Linked DNA regions of Homo sapiens: all the other regions are linked to region 2. Evidence: promoter capture Hi-C in 16 types of primary human blood cells and fetal thymus (Javierre and others, 2016). All regions are on one chromosome and are shown on one strand. The core of a region is centred on a gene start or on the middle of the fragment in contact, and the rest is flanking DNA. Distances in the headings are between cores, read along the strand shown. Region 1 has its middle 47 kb from the start of CEP162. Region 2 holds the start of SNAP91 (synaptosome associated protein 91). Region 3 has its middle 83 kb from the start of CEP162.

What was found. Contacts are between HindIII fragments. The CHiCAGO score rates a contact against its expected background, and 5 or more counts as called.
Region 1: a fragment that was not itself captured here is called in contact with the fragment with the promoter of SNAP91 in region 2 in 1 of 17 cell types (neutrophils); the score reaches 5.3 in neutrophils.
Region 3: a contact is called between a fragment that was not itself captured here and the fragment with the promoter of SNAP91 in region 2, in 1 of 17 cell types (neutrophils). The highest score is 5.1, in neutrophils.

What each region holds. Positions count from the first base shown.
Region 1 is chr6:84,272,361-84,276,939 of GRCh38, forward strand. No RefSeq gene overlaps it. Among named protein-coding and RNA genes, the nearest start is that of CEP162, 47 kb to the left of the region's middle. The HindIII fragment of the contact is 3,112 bases long and covers 1-2,882 here.
Region 2 is chr6:83,707,180-83,711,518 of GRCh38, forward strand. SNAP91 (synaptosome associated protein 91) reads right to left here and starts at 1,922. Exons shown (of 30, transcript NM_001242792.2): 1 at 1,666-1,922; 2 at 619-778. The coding sequence starts at 748. It overlaps LOC105377879 (a long non-coding RNA gene), which reads left to right and starts at 2,263. Exons shown (of 3, transcript NR_136251.1): 1 at 2,263-2,540. RefSeq lists silencers at 891-1,185, 1,595-1,804, 2,135-2,194. The HindIII fragment of the contact is 3,637 bases long and covers 1-3,061 here.
Region 3 is chr6:84,308,718-84,312,986 of GRCh38, forward strand. No RefSeq gene overlaps it. Among named protein-coding and RNA genes, the nearest start is that of CEP162, 83 kb to the left of the region's middle. The HindIII fragment of the contact is 903 bases long and covers 887-1,789 here.

The sequences.
Region 1 (4,579 bases), core at 77-2,576, 560 kb after region 2:
GAGTGACAAAAGCTAGGGAATGATTTTAGGGTGGTTGAGAAGTAATGAAGATTTAAACTGGTGTGGCAGGAGGAAAGGGAGGGAGAGGACATGAAAGTGTGAGATGAGCAAAAAGGAAACTGGAATTTCTCCTTTGGTATCTGCCCATACTACACTCTCTTAACTCCCTACATAGATGCTTGTTCTTATCACACCTGAGGAAATTTTGTTTGTTTTCAGGCTCACCTCTTCTACTGGTCTAAGAGTTCACTGAGGACTATATTTTGTTCATCTTGGTATTTCTAGACTCTATTGCAGAGCCTGAGAACATAGTCCTTGAAAAGAGTTTGTTTTTTATTTTTAAATATATTTTATTTTTAAATTTTTAAAATTTTTAATTTTTGTAGGTACATGAGATGTTATGTACAGGCATGCAATGTGAAATAAACACATCAAGAAGAATGGGGGTATCCGTCCCCTCGATCATTTATCCATTGAGTTGCAAATGATCCAATTGTACTCTTCAAGTTATTTTAAAATGTACAGTTATTACTGATTAAACAGGCAAAAACAAATGCTGGCAAGGATGTGGTGAAATGAGTTTATTTAACACGAGAATAAATGTGGAATATGGACAAAAACATATACAATGGTAAGAGGAAAATAGAAAAGAGAGCAAAAGATAAGTGAAATGGGGAAGGAAGTAAGGAGAAAGATGAGAGGGTTGTTTTGGAACAGCTTGAGTTCATTCACAACCAGGGATGTGGAATTGTAGCCATTTAAAAAATTAGATTAACACTTCCCTTCTTTTTTTCTTTTACCCTGAAGCCCTCACCCCATGCTCTGCCCTTAATAAATAATACTTGATGAAGATGGTGATGATGTGTCCTCTTCATGCTAATCCAGGCAGTTCCCAGTTTATGAACGGATTGGGTTCCAAAAATCTGTTGTAAGTCAGTTGTTTAGCTATTGGAATGTATTTTTCCTTTGAGACAATGTAACACTCAGTGGTTAAATTCTCCAACTACTTCACAAAAGGTTATTTAATCCACAACGTGTTGGAATTATAGTGCTAATGTACTGCAGAATAGTAATTCCTTATAGGCATATTATGTACCTCTTGATGGTTTACAAAGTGGTTTTGCATACATTTTGAAAAATGGAACATCTTTGCATATTTTTCCCATGGAAAAAATGTGTTCCAAATTTTAAATGTAGAGGCCAGTTACACATCCTCCACCCACTCTGGTCTCAGTGAAAAGACTTGGCTTCCAAAGAGAGGCTCCCACACTGTCCTCTCCAGAAGCCTCACTCCAAGGGAGATCCTAAGATGACAGCAGGGAGGTAGGATGGGTGTGTGTCAGTGCAGGAGGACTTTGCGGTGAGTTGAACCATCACTGGGTTTATAGTCAGTAGAGTGAGTTTGAATCTAGATTCTGCCACTTACCAGCTGGTAAACTATGTGAGTGTTAAGTTTCCACTTACGCAGAGTGAGGATACTGATATTTTCCTGATGGGGTTTGGTGATGTTCAAGATGAGAGGATGTATAAGGAGCATATGGCATACTACACACATAATGGATGCTCAAAAATGTTCTCTTTATCCTCTTCTGCACTTGCCCACCACCAAACCCTAATGAGGAGTGCGTAGACAGAGTTCCTGCGGTGATCAGTTTGCTGATGGGCAGGGCAAGGGTTCAGGAATCAGGGAGAGCCTAGGTGGAGGATGCTTCCGTGGTGAGCAACCAGTTCCCGGAGTCGGAGTAGTGAGGGCTCAGTAGTGCTGATTCTCCTGGATAACAGTGGCAACTTCACCATCCATTTCTGCATCAACATTGTGGGAAGCTCGATCAGAAAGAGAACGAGAATGGGATTGGGTACTGGCATTGTACCTAAATCTCAGTTGCTTGGCACTGTAGAGGTTTAGTGCTTGCTCACACTCATGTGAAGAAAGGAGCTTTCTTGTTTTCTTTTAAAGGTGTTTGGGTGATGGAGACTTTTTTCATCATGTGGCTCTGGCTGGCTTCACTGCTTGGCATCAAGCTGGTGGAAGAGAAAAGAAAAAGTACCATTGTAGGATTGTGTGTGGGAGATTTTCATTGGTCAAACCTAGAAGGGGCTCATATCACTTCTACTCATAGATTATTGGCTAGTGTCATGTGAGCGCATCAAACTGCAAAGGATTAGAAAGTATAGTCTTGTTGCTTTCCTAGGAGGAAGAAGAAATAGTTTTGGTGGTCAGCTAGCAGTCTTTGCCATGGATGGGAGTAGAGGTGCTACGTAGGTGCTTGTTGTTACAAGCTGTTTGCAAGTGAGTAATTATAAGTTAAAAAACCATCCTGACTATGATTTAAGATAAACAAGTCAAGCTAAATGAATACTAGAATATTCAAAATAAGATAGGGCCTGAGTGTTTTGGGGTAAACCTGTACATATACCCTAGTTCTTCTTCTCTGGAAGAAATGAAAGAGATGAAACGGACTAATACTAAACAGTTTTCAAAGTAGATTAAAGCATAATGATTCTTTAAATTTCCTCCACCAAGAAAATGTTTTAAAAATGCCAAATTTAATGATATAAATTAACTTCAGCTACTTTAACATACCAGTGCTGTCTGAAGACATAACTGGTCACTTTTTATGATGTTCCTTTCTTTCTTTGCTTTATTTAACAAATTTACTCAGGGTCTGGATATTTGAGTCACACCCTTAGCTGAGGATGATTAAGACAGTTATCGTCATTCCAACCTTCCCTGACTGACCTCAGAAAAGGTCCTATTTTATAGAAAGAGCCTGGATTTTGGAGTCTAATCACTTCAACAGGTCAAAGGTCTTCTAAGGCTCTACTATGTTCCAGACGATAGAGATAAGAAAATGTATAAGACATGGGATCATCCCCCAAGAAGCTTAAGGTCTAGTGATGGAGACAGGAATATAAATAAGTAATGGCACGTTGGGATGAGGGCAGCATTGGCCACATTGGTGTCTTGGATTAGGGAGAACTGAGAGTGGAGGGTGAGAGTAGATGGGGCAAGTGAGGAGGCTGGTTAGGAACCAGGGGTAGGCAGGAGCCACAACACAAAGGATCTTCTAAACCATGTTAAGGGGCTTGGCTGTTATCATATAGATGACTTCTACAGGAGCTAATTTCATTCTGGTGCACAAGCCCAGGAAGCTCAGAGGTATATTACCTACTGACTCAAGAATCATGCTAATTTATTTGTATAAATGGCTTTCCAAAACATCTCTGTGTGGTCTTACTCTATTGAATTATATTACCACAATTTATTTAGAATTCCCATATGTGCATGTGTGATGTTTTCTAGGGAGTACAAACATTTTTCAGATTAGTGTCATGGAAGTCCTCTATATATCAGAGGCAATAAAAGAGAGTTGCACATTATGTTTTCTGTGTCCTTTAGGCTTGTAAAATTATTTATTTTTTTTCCTAGATAAAAAGTTGCTCAAAATCAACTTAAAGTAAAATCTAAGTGCATCATTGAAAGTTTGGGGGTATTCCATGTTGTAGTGATTTAAATATTTTTTTTTAGTGAACAACATTTAAAAATCAGTCACTTTACTTATTCCAAGAAAGCAGGGAATGGGACTATAGAGGAAGGGTAAGTAACTATCTGTACCATATAACCCAAGACATTGCAGTTACTCTTTAAATGTGGGATTATTTGGAACATTTCTCAATTTGTGAAGCCCTGGCCATTAGAGTGGTTTTCAACCATGGCTGCTCATTAGAATTGCCTGGAAAACTTTGAAGTGTTCGGATGCCCAGGCCATATGCCAGACCAATTAAATCAGAAATCTCCACAGATGGGACGCAGGCATAAACATTTTTTAAAGCTTCCCAAGTGATTCCAATTCAAAACCCAGTTTGAGAAGTACTAGTCTATTAGGTAGGATTACCTGGTGCATGGAAACAGCAAGTTCCAATTAATCAGCTCAATTCATTTAAATCACGTGCCAGACACTGTGCTTGGTCCTGGGGGCTAAGACACAGGTCCTGCCTTCAAGTATATCACTCTAAAAGAGGGGTGAGCCTAGTGGGGTTTGAGAAGGGAGAGATGGTGAGGGCAACAATGGTTTGGGTGAGTTTCCTGCGACAAGACGTGTAGACTGAGTGTGGAACTTGGTTCAAATGTATGTCAATTAAAGGAGGAGGAGGGACAACATGGTAAATATTTGGTAAAAGTCATGTTCTGTAGTTAGTGAAATTGAGCCATAAATCTAGAAGGACTCACTGATGTTTGGCGGGATTAGAAGCCAGGAGAACTGGTTTCCATGCTTATGTATAGTAGACCATTACTTTTGTCTGTCAACTCCAGCCTCTACCAAGGACTTTTTTTTTTTTTTTTTCAAGGCAAACCAAGGGGCCTTTTTCATAAAATTTCTTAAAAACAATATATACTTCTAGATAAAACTTATATGATATATTTTGTTTATGTGGTTACAAAAAAGAATACCAACTTGGAAAAACAGAATACTTTAGTTTGAAATGTTTAGAGCTAAAGAGCTCTAGCCAGGCAGTAGGACAAAGTTTTATTTTATAAGCCAGTGGTGACATTTCCATGGTGTTATAATCTGTAATA
Region 2 (4,339 bases), core at 672-3,171:
AATGAAATTGCCATAGCTATGAAGTCCAATTTCCTCATTCAGTACCTTGAATTTATTTCAGTTTGGTATGGTAACATACCTCACACACACACACACACACCCATACTCACAAAAACAATCCTCAGGAGCAACACTTAAAAAGATTATACTACCTTAGAACTATCTGAAATGTATTTAGGAAAGAACTAGGGTGACAAGTTTGACCTTCCATAAATTCATCTTTTTTTTTTTTGACTGTGCAACCTCTAATTTCCTCTAATTTGGAGAAGGGAGGGTGGGTGGAGAAAGAAAAAAAGGTGAAAAACATCTAATTCAGTGTGTACAATCTCTCTCTTGTGTGTGTGTATATACATATGCGTGTGTGTGTGTGTGTGTGTGTGTATTTTTCCCCCTCCACCAAGACCTTGGAGGTCAATAAGAGGAAAAAATGGCTCACAAGACAAGGTTTCATGGCTAACCCAAGGGAACACCTTCACAGCTGAAGAATTTCAGCTCAGGGGCAACCTGGCTGGGAGTATCAGAGGCCACAGCATTATGGACCAAGAGCGCAGGCCGCACCACCAGCATCCCAGGCGCCTCTGCCGTGCGCATGTCCCTCTTATATAAAGAGATGCTTACAGTCCAGGTGCTTTTTCTTGGGGCCCATTACTTCATGAGTAGTGGCTTTGCAGACCGCTCTTGCTACAGCAGAGCCTGTAACGCTGTACTGAGCGGCGGCGATCCGATCCGTGAGCGTTTGGCCCGACATCTTCTGTGGTCGCGTCTACCGCCTCCTCTTCTGCAGGAAACAAGGGGAGACGGTCCGGCTTTAATCCGCAGACCCTACCCTCCAAGCACCCAGGCCTTGCCTCCTCCAGCCGCGCGGCGGCTCTCTCCTCCTCCATCCCCACCCTGGCACCACCTCTCGGAGCCAGCAACGCGCCAAGCCCCGCTCCTGCGATGCGGTCCAGGGAGTCTTGGCCGTGAGTAGGGCCGTCACGGAACCCCAGCGTGGGCTCCAGTCGCAGCATCGTGACACCGTCCCCATTCTCCCCCGGCCCCCACATAGGGCCAGACTCACCCCCTGGGGACCCCCCTGTCAATCAGCACTTTCCCCGCAACCTGACCCGCGGGTGCTGGACTAGCCACAACGTGCGTTGGGGTTATTCCCTGGGCGCCGCACCCACCGGTGCCCATCTCCCACCTCAGCAGACTTTCCTCCTAGCAGCCCGCAGGCTTCGGGGAATGCATCGGATACCCAAGCCCTGGCTGCCTCCCTCCTCCTCCTCGCGCTGCTGCAGCAAAGGGCTCGTCCTCCCTCAGTCGCGAAGGAGATTATCCTAGCGTTGCGCCATGTTATGCCCTCGCCTCCCCTTCCTTCCTCGCCGCCGGCTCCAAAGCCTCGCCGAGGCCCATCGCCCGGGCCCCTTCCCCCCGGTTCCAAATCCCTGCCGCAGGGGCCGCCCGGGAGCTCTGCGGAGGCGCCGGAGTCTTGGGGCGCCTCACCCTTCCTGGCTTTGGAGAGGAGCCGGGCTGACAGCGAAGCCCAGTCCCCCGCCCGCCCTGGAGCGCTCCGCGGAGCTGTCACTCGGCCGCTGCCCTTCTCCGCACCCTGGGATTATCCTCTGCGGATCCCCGCGAGACCCTGGCGCGGGGAGGGGGCCGAGTACGGCCGCGGGTACTCACCCCGCCCCTGAGCGGCGCCGCCCGCCGCAGGATGAGCGGAGCCCGGGCCGCCGAGGGAAGCCGCGCCGGTGGATGTGTGCGACCGCGCGTAGCCCCGGTGCCCCCGGGCGCAAAGTCTCCAGCCCTGGCCGGGCCCCGCTCCTCAGCTCCGCGGTCCCGGCGCCCACCGCCCCTGGCCCCTGGCCCCAGAAGCCAGTACCCGCCCGCCGCCGCCTCTTCTGCCAGCGCCGCCGCGTCTCTCTAGCGCTCCGAGCTGCGTCCCCATCCCCGCCCCCACCTCAGCTGTGGCTCCTCCGACGAGTCAGGTGACGGCGGCGGACAAACCCGGACGAGCCCTCGGCGGAGCGCCTCGCGGCCCCCTCCCAGCTACTCACACACACCGCCCCCCGGGGCCGGGAGCTTAAAGGCGAGGGGGCGCCTCGCGCAAGCATCCCCGGCAAGCCGGCGGGGAGAAGAAGGAGGCGGGGAGGCCGACACCCACCCAGCCAGCGGCTCTCCGCTGGGCGCCGGGCCGCCCCTCCGCTGCTGGCGCCGCACCCGGCACGCACTGGGCTCGCGCACCACGCACACCTGCCCGCCGACTGCGGGGGGAGCCCTGGGCGTTGGGGGCGTTGGCCAAGACGGGCGAGTGGGCTTCTCGGGTTCTACTCTGTGAAGGCCAAGGCAAGGGCGTCGTCGCGCGCTGCCTGGCGGAGCCCAGCCCCTTCCCCACACTGTCGCTGACACGCCCGCCTGTCAAAGGCTCCGAGGCCCAGATGAGCAGGGCGATTTTAAATGTCAGATCCTGCCGGCCATCCGCGACCGTCACCTGTGCGTCTTCAGCTCCTCAGGCTCCTCCGCTTGTCTCAGTTACAACTGGGAGCCCGGGTGGGCAGGTAATTCTAGCCACTTTAGTCTTAAACGGATACTGAGGTCTGCTGAAGGGAGAATAATTAACACAGCCGTTAATCGAGTCCCAGATTACCTTCGACAGTAATCATTTGCGTGCATAAAGAAAACCCTTTGTACCCTTAAGAAGTAATTTCTGCCAATTAAATATAGTGTTGGAACGTCCGTCAATTGTATGTCAAGTGTATATTCGAATAGTAAGCAGGAATTTCTAAACAGGGATGTGGAGTTGGTTAATAGCTTCACGTGTTGACATTTTCAAAGGTTGTTATTTATGTTCACCTTTTTTTTTAATTCTCACAGTAGCATGAAGATCAAAACTATATTTGTGAGCTTTCCTGGCATTTTTTCTCCTTGCTTCGGGTGGCTTCTGCTCGGCCTTGAAGCCATATATCGATACCTATCGATCTCAACGTTTTGTTATATATTCCTCTCTTTCACCTGGTACAGTGTTCAGTATGCAGTCATGATTTCCTAACTACTGAGACTGATTCTAGGACTAATTGGAAGCTTAATGACTAAAGAGAGACAGCTTAAGAGCACTATTGTCTCAAGTACTAGTCTTACCATATTTACAAGGGAAATAAAAACGCAATTCTATTAAAAAAACTTGTACTCCAGTTTTATAGCAGCTTAATATAATGGCCCCAAACTGGAGGAAAGCCAAATGTTATTCTACTAGTAAATGAATAAACAAAATATGGTATATCCACATAATGGAATACTACTTAGCAATAACAAGAAACAAACTAATACCATTCATGAATCTCAAATTCATTAGACGAAGGGAAAGAAGCTCTATCAAAAATTCTACTTATTATTTTGATTTCATTTATGTAACATTCTGGAAAAGTCAAAACTATAGAAACAGAAAACACATCAGGTGCCGAGTCAGGTGACGGTGGCATTGGGGGAGGGGACTGCAAAGGGGCAGAAGGAAACTTTTTGGAGAGATGGAAATGTTTTATATCGTGACGGTGATGATGATTATACAGCTGCATGTATTTCTCAAAACTCATCAATTTGTACACTTAAAATTGGCGAATTTTGTTGTTTGTTAATTATACCTCAATATAATCTGATAGAGTTGGGAGTGGCAATATTAATATCAAAGTAGGTTTTACAATAAGGAATATTAATAGCAATAAACAGGCACATTTCATAATGAAAAATTCATTAAGAGCATGGAACAATTCTACTTGTTTGTATATCTAAGAACAGAGCTTCAAAGTAGGACGAAGCAAAACCTAATAGCATTAAAAGGAGAAACAGGCAAATCCACAATTATACTTCAGGATTTCAGCACTTTTCTCTATGTAATAAATAGGACAAGTAGACAGGAAACCTGTAAGGGTATAGATGACTTGAAATAGCCCTGTAGGCCGGACGCGGTTGGCTCATGCTTGTAATCCCAGCACTTTGGGAGGCCGAGCCAGGCAGATCATGAGGTTAGGAGATCAAGACCATCCTGGCTAACACGGTGAAACCCCGTCTCTACTAAAAATACAAAAAAAAAAAAAAATTAGCTGGGCGTGGTGGTGGGTGCCTGTAGCCCCAGCTACTCAGGAGGCTGAGGCAGGAGAATGGCGTGAACCCGGGAGGCGGAGCTTGCAGTGAGCGGACATCGCGCCACTGCACTTCAGCTGGGGTGACAGAGCAAGACTCTGTCTCACAAAAAAAAAAAAAAAGAAAGAAATAGTCCTGCAGACCAACTTCACCTAATTGACATTTATAAAATAGTCCACCCAACAGTAGTGGAATACTTTCTTAAAGTGTGCATGGAATA
Region 3 (4,269 bases), core at 88-2,587, 600 kb after region 2:
TTTCCCCCCTGCTCCTCTGTAAACACCTGTAAAGGTGTTCATTTTAGGAAATCTTTTGTTTCAGAAGAAATCTAAAATTTGAAATTTTTTTGTTTTCTTAAAATAGAGCTACAGAACATTTCATTGACTTAATACATGAGTGAAGAGAATCTGGATGAGGCAATTAAATATTTTCCAATCCTGATAACATGTGCAGACAGAGCTGTATCAATACCCTCATAAAGAAAATTACACTAGAAAAATACTTTTATGTAGAAAACAACTTTTACAATATTAATTTTACCCTGAATCATACTTTTAAATGTATAAGTTGCTGCTTACTCACAGTTGTGTTGCAAACAGAAAAATATAATATCAACTTATTATAAGACATTTGCCTACATCTTAATTGCAACATTTATTATTGCATTCAAATGCATAGGTACAGATCTTCAATAAAATATTAAAATAAAAATCATAGGCAGATGATAACCTCTTTGTCTTTTAAATTATAAACTGCTTATATACTACTTCTGAGGTGCAGCATACTTCCTCATAAATTGAAGGAAGCTGATCCTTTGAGAATATTGATCAAAAGATGACCAGCTGTGAAGCAGTTTGGAGTTCAGAGGTCTAGATAAGTGGAGATTTTACATAACTATGTGGGGGAACCTGGTTCTCTTCTGGGTCTGCAGAATGTCTTGAACCTTTTTTCAATGTTTTGGGTTTGGCAAACCCAAAATATGTTTTGCTAAGCAGTTTTCTCTTCACTTTAAACCCATGTGTATTATAAAGGAAATTTAATCCGTATGTTTTTGATTCTTTTACACTTAACTCATCAAAATGTTGTTTTGTAAGAGCTATTTGATGTCCAAGAAGACTTTGAGTCTTTTTATAACTTTAAAAAAGCTTCCCCCCGCTTAGAAACAGGAAGTTGTGCTTTTCTGAGAGTAAACAAACAAAAAACTTAGAAGCTAGTTTCTTAGAAGACTTCAAACCTAGGATAAATTAATAATAATAAAGCAAACACTATTTCCTTGGTTTGCTCTAAGCATTTTTCATGTTTTAAGTTATTTAATTCTTGCAACTATCATATGAGGGAAGTTCAGTTACTTCCTCTGTTTTAAGTTAAGTTACCTGTCCAAAGGTCATACAACTTATGAGGTGGAGCTGGGATTGGAAACTAGGCAGTTTATGTCCCAACTTTCAGCAATTAAACATATTACCTATTTCTATAGTACTGTCCTGAAATTTAAGAATTTTGGATATTACTTAAAATTACTTATGAACCAGTAGAGTACTAGATACTGAGAAGATTGTATTTTTACCCCTAAGAGAGTTTACTTTGTAATGGGCACACATGGACTAAAGGAAAAACAAAACAAAATAAGAAACAAACAACCCTGAATGAAATCCTGCACATTTTTTCGATATCATTCATCTAACACATACATATAGAATATCTACTAATGGCAGGCTCTGTTCTGGTCATTGAGGATACTGAGGTCATGGAGCTGGTATCTTGATGGATACTGTGTTCCTCCTCTAAGAGCAGACTTGGAACTTGGAAAAATGCCTAGATGGCTTCAGATGTTTCCAGCAGTGATAGGCAGGTCGAGAGGCAGCTGGGATGACCTGTAGCAACCCCCATCCAGCCTATGCTCTTGGGAGAACGTGTGTCCTGCAGAAGCTGTGGGTGTTTGGGGCATCCAGTCTCGCACTCCAGATGCCGGTGAATATTTTCTTCCTAGCAAAGTTATTCCTTTCCTCAAGGACTTCAAGAAGCTAGTATTCCTGTTTATGGAAAATAAGCTTTTTATCCTTAAAAGTCTTCACGAAGTTTTGGGAGGCCGAGGCGGGGATCACGAGGTCAGGAGATAGAGACCATCCTGGCTAACACGGTGAAACCCCGTCTCTACTAAAAAATACAAAAAACTAATTAGCTGGGGGTGGTGGCAGGCGCCTGTAGTGCCAGTTACTCGGGAGACTGAGGCAGGAGAATGGGGTGAACCCGGGAGGCGGAGCTTGCAGTGAGCCGAGATCGCGCCACTGCACTCCAGCCTGGGCGACAGAGCGAGACTCCATTTCAAAAAAAAAAAAAAAAAACAAAAAGTATTAATAAAGTTAGATAATAAAACACCTTAAAGGTCTTCAGGGAATTTTACTCTCCTTACTACACATTGGTATGTTTTACTGCATCTCAATTATGAACAAGAGATTACAGTAAAAACGGGAGGAAGTTTAACAGTTAGTATGTCAACATTTATTTGAACATTTTATGGGTGTTTTTCTTATAAAAGCAATACAAACATATTAAAAACAATTTGGAAAACAAAGTTAAAAAATGAAGTTCTACCCACAAACATAAGTTTAGCTGACATTTCTGGTGAGTATAATTGTGTAGTTTTAAAAAAATATCAATAATTGTCTTGCATTTCACTTACATGCTTACTTTTTCAATAACTTATTAAAAGAAAAGGAAGACCATGTTTTATCTCTTAAAATGAAATAATACAGTAGAATTTGGACCCTTGAATTTGGCTTTGCTTTACATTTGAGGAAGCTTAGGTTTTCTTTAAAAGAAGGAGATTTAAGACATCCTTAGGCTAATCAGAACTTTGATGACATGGCTTCCAATACAAAAAAATTCATTCAGGAAAGTGCGAGATGAAAGCTATGGGATGAGAGTTGTAGTGTGGTGAGGAAAAGTCAGCCAAAACTATACCTTTACTTAGGAAATGTGTCTTGGATTCCAAATCAAAATTCATTTAGTATGAAATGGAATAATTTAGAAAGAATGGATGCTACCAGTCCTCCCAGCCATATAAAACCCTAAAGTGGCTGGAAATAGCGAAACTTTGTCAGGCCTATGACAAATATATGCTTTTCTTCCAAGGCCTGAAAGAAAGGCTGAAATTAACTACATTTTGTGAAAATTACTCTTCTCATAAAGATTGTTTGTAAGAACACCTTTAAAAGGTTTAAAATGTAAAAACCTCTAAAACTCTAAAATACGTTGAAATACAAGCCTAAAGTATTAAACACTGTAAATTTTCTCAAATAAAAGAAAAAAGAATAGTACTTTTATTTGTGTTGAGAAGTAATGTAAAAACATACTAAATAAAAAAAATCAATGGGTTGAAAAAAGACTTATGTTTTTAATCTTTCCGTTAAATACCTCTGAGTAACCAAAATGCTTTTGCTTCAAGTGGTTTTCCTGGTTCGGCCAATAAGTCTTTCTTAGCTTTGAAAATTTTATTCAAATATCAAGGGAATGAAGAAAAATAAAGGTCCTTTAAAAGAAAAAAATGAGATCTCTGAGCCATGCAAGTTTCAATCTTTGAATTATCTTATTTGAAGGATTACCTTTTTTTTTGCAGGCTTGTTATAGTTTTTTGTCATTTCACAATTTTCCCTTTAAGTACTTCCATGTCCTTTGTCATATTTGCCAGACCTATTCTTGTCTCCCTCAATTTGTCCTCTGATTGTTGGAAGCTGAGAGAAAGCTGCTCTGAGTATATAAAATGGGAAAATGTAGTCCACGTAGAAAGTAACACAGAATCTCTATCTTGTTTTTGTGTTACAATTATTATTCTCTCAATCTGGAATTTTTTTTCCTTTTAATAACACAGACGAAAGCAAAAAATTCTTGTGATTCTCAAGAATACCTTTATGAATCAGTTCTTTCTCTAAACTTTCCCTTGGAAAAAGAAATCAAAAACGATGAAAAGCAATTGACTTCTAGCATGACTATCAAACAAAGGATTCACTCACAAAACTAATTTGTCATTCATATCCTAACCTTTTCATTATGCTGTATCCTCACTTAAAAAAGTCAGGAGTACTAATAGTTAATAATTTGCAAAATTTCAGGCTCTGCCTATTGAAAAAATACATATAGCTACCAGTTCTAATAAGCCAAAACTAATAACAATGTCATCATTACCATAATGGCCTGGAATTCTTTGGCTCTCTGAAATCAGTGGTGGGAGTTCAAACCATTTAGTTTGCCAAAACAACAATTCATTCTATAGCTAATATATGTAGTCTTGCTTTCAAACTCTGGGGTCTTTGTTAGTGTGGGTGAAGACAATTGGGGGAAGTCTCCCACATTGTCCCCTTTTTGTTTTCATACTTTAATCCTACCTCTTCTCTGTTCCTGAAAAGATGGAAGGAGAGAGACGGATAGATATATAAGAATTACAGAGAAGGGCAAAATCTCTGTGACTTTTTTTCTAAGTGGGCCCAGGATCATTGTTTACCTGAGTATTCATTAATATACTAAATTGA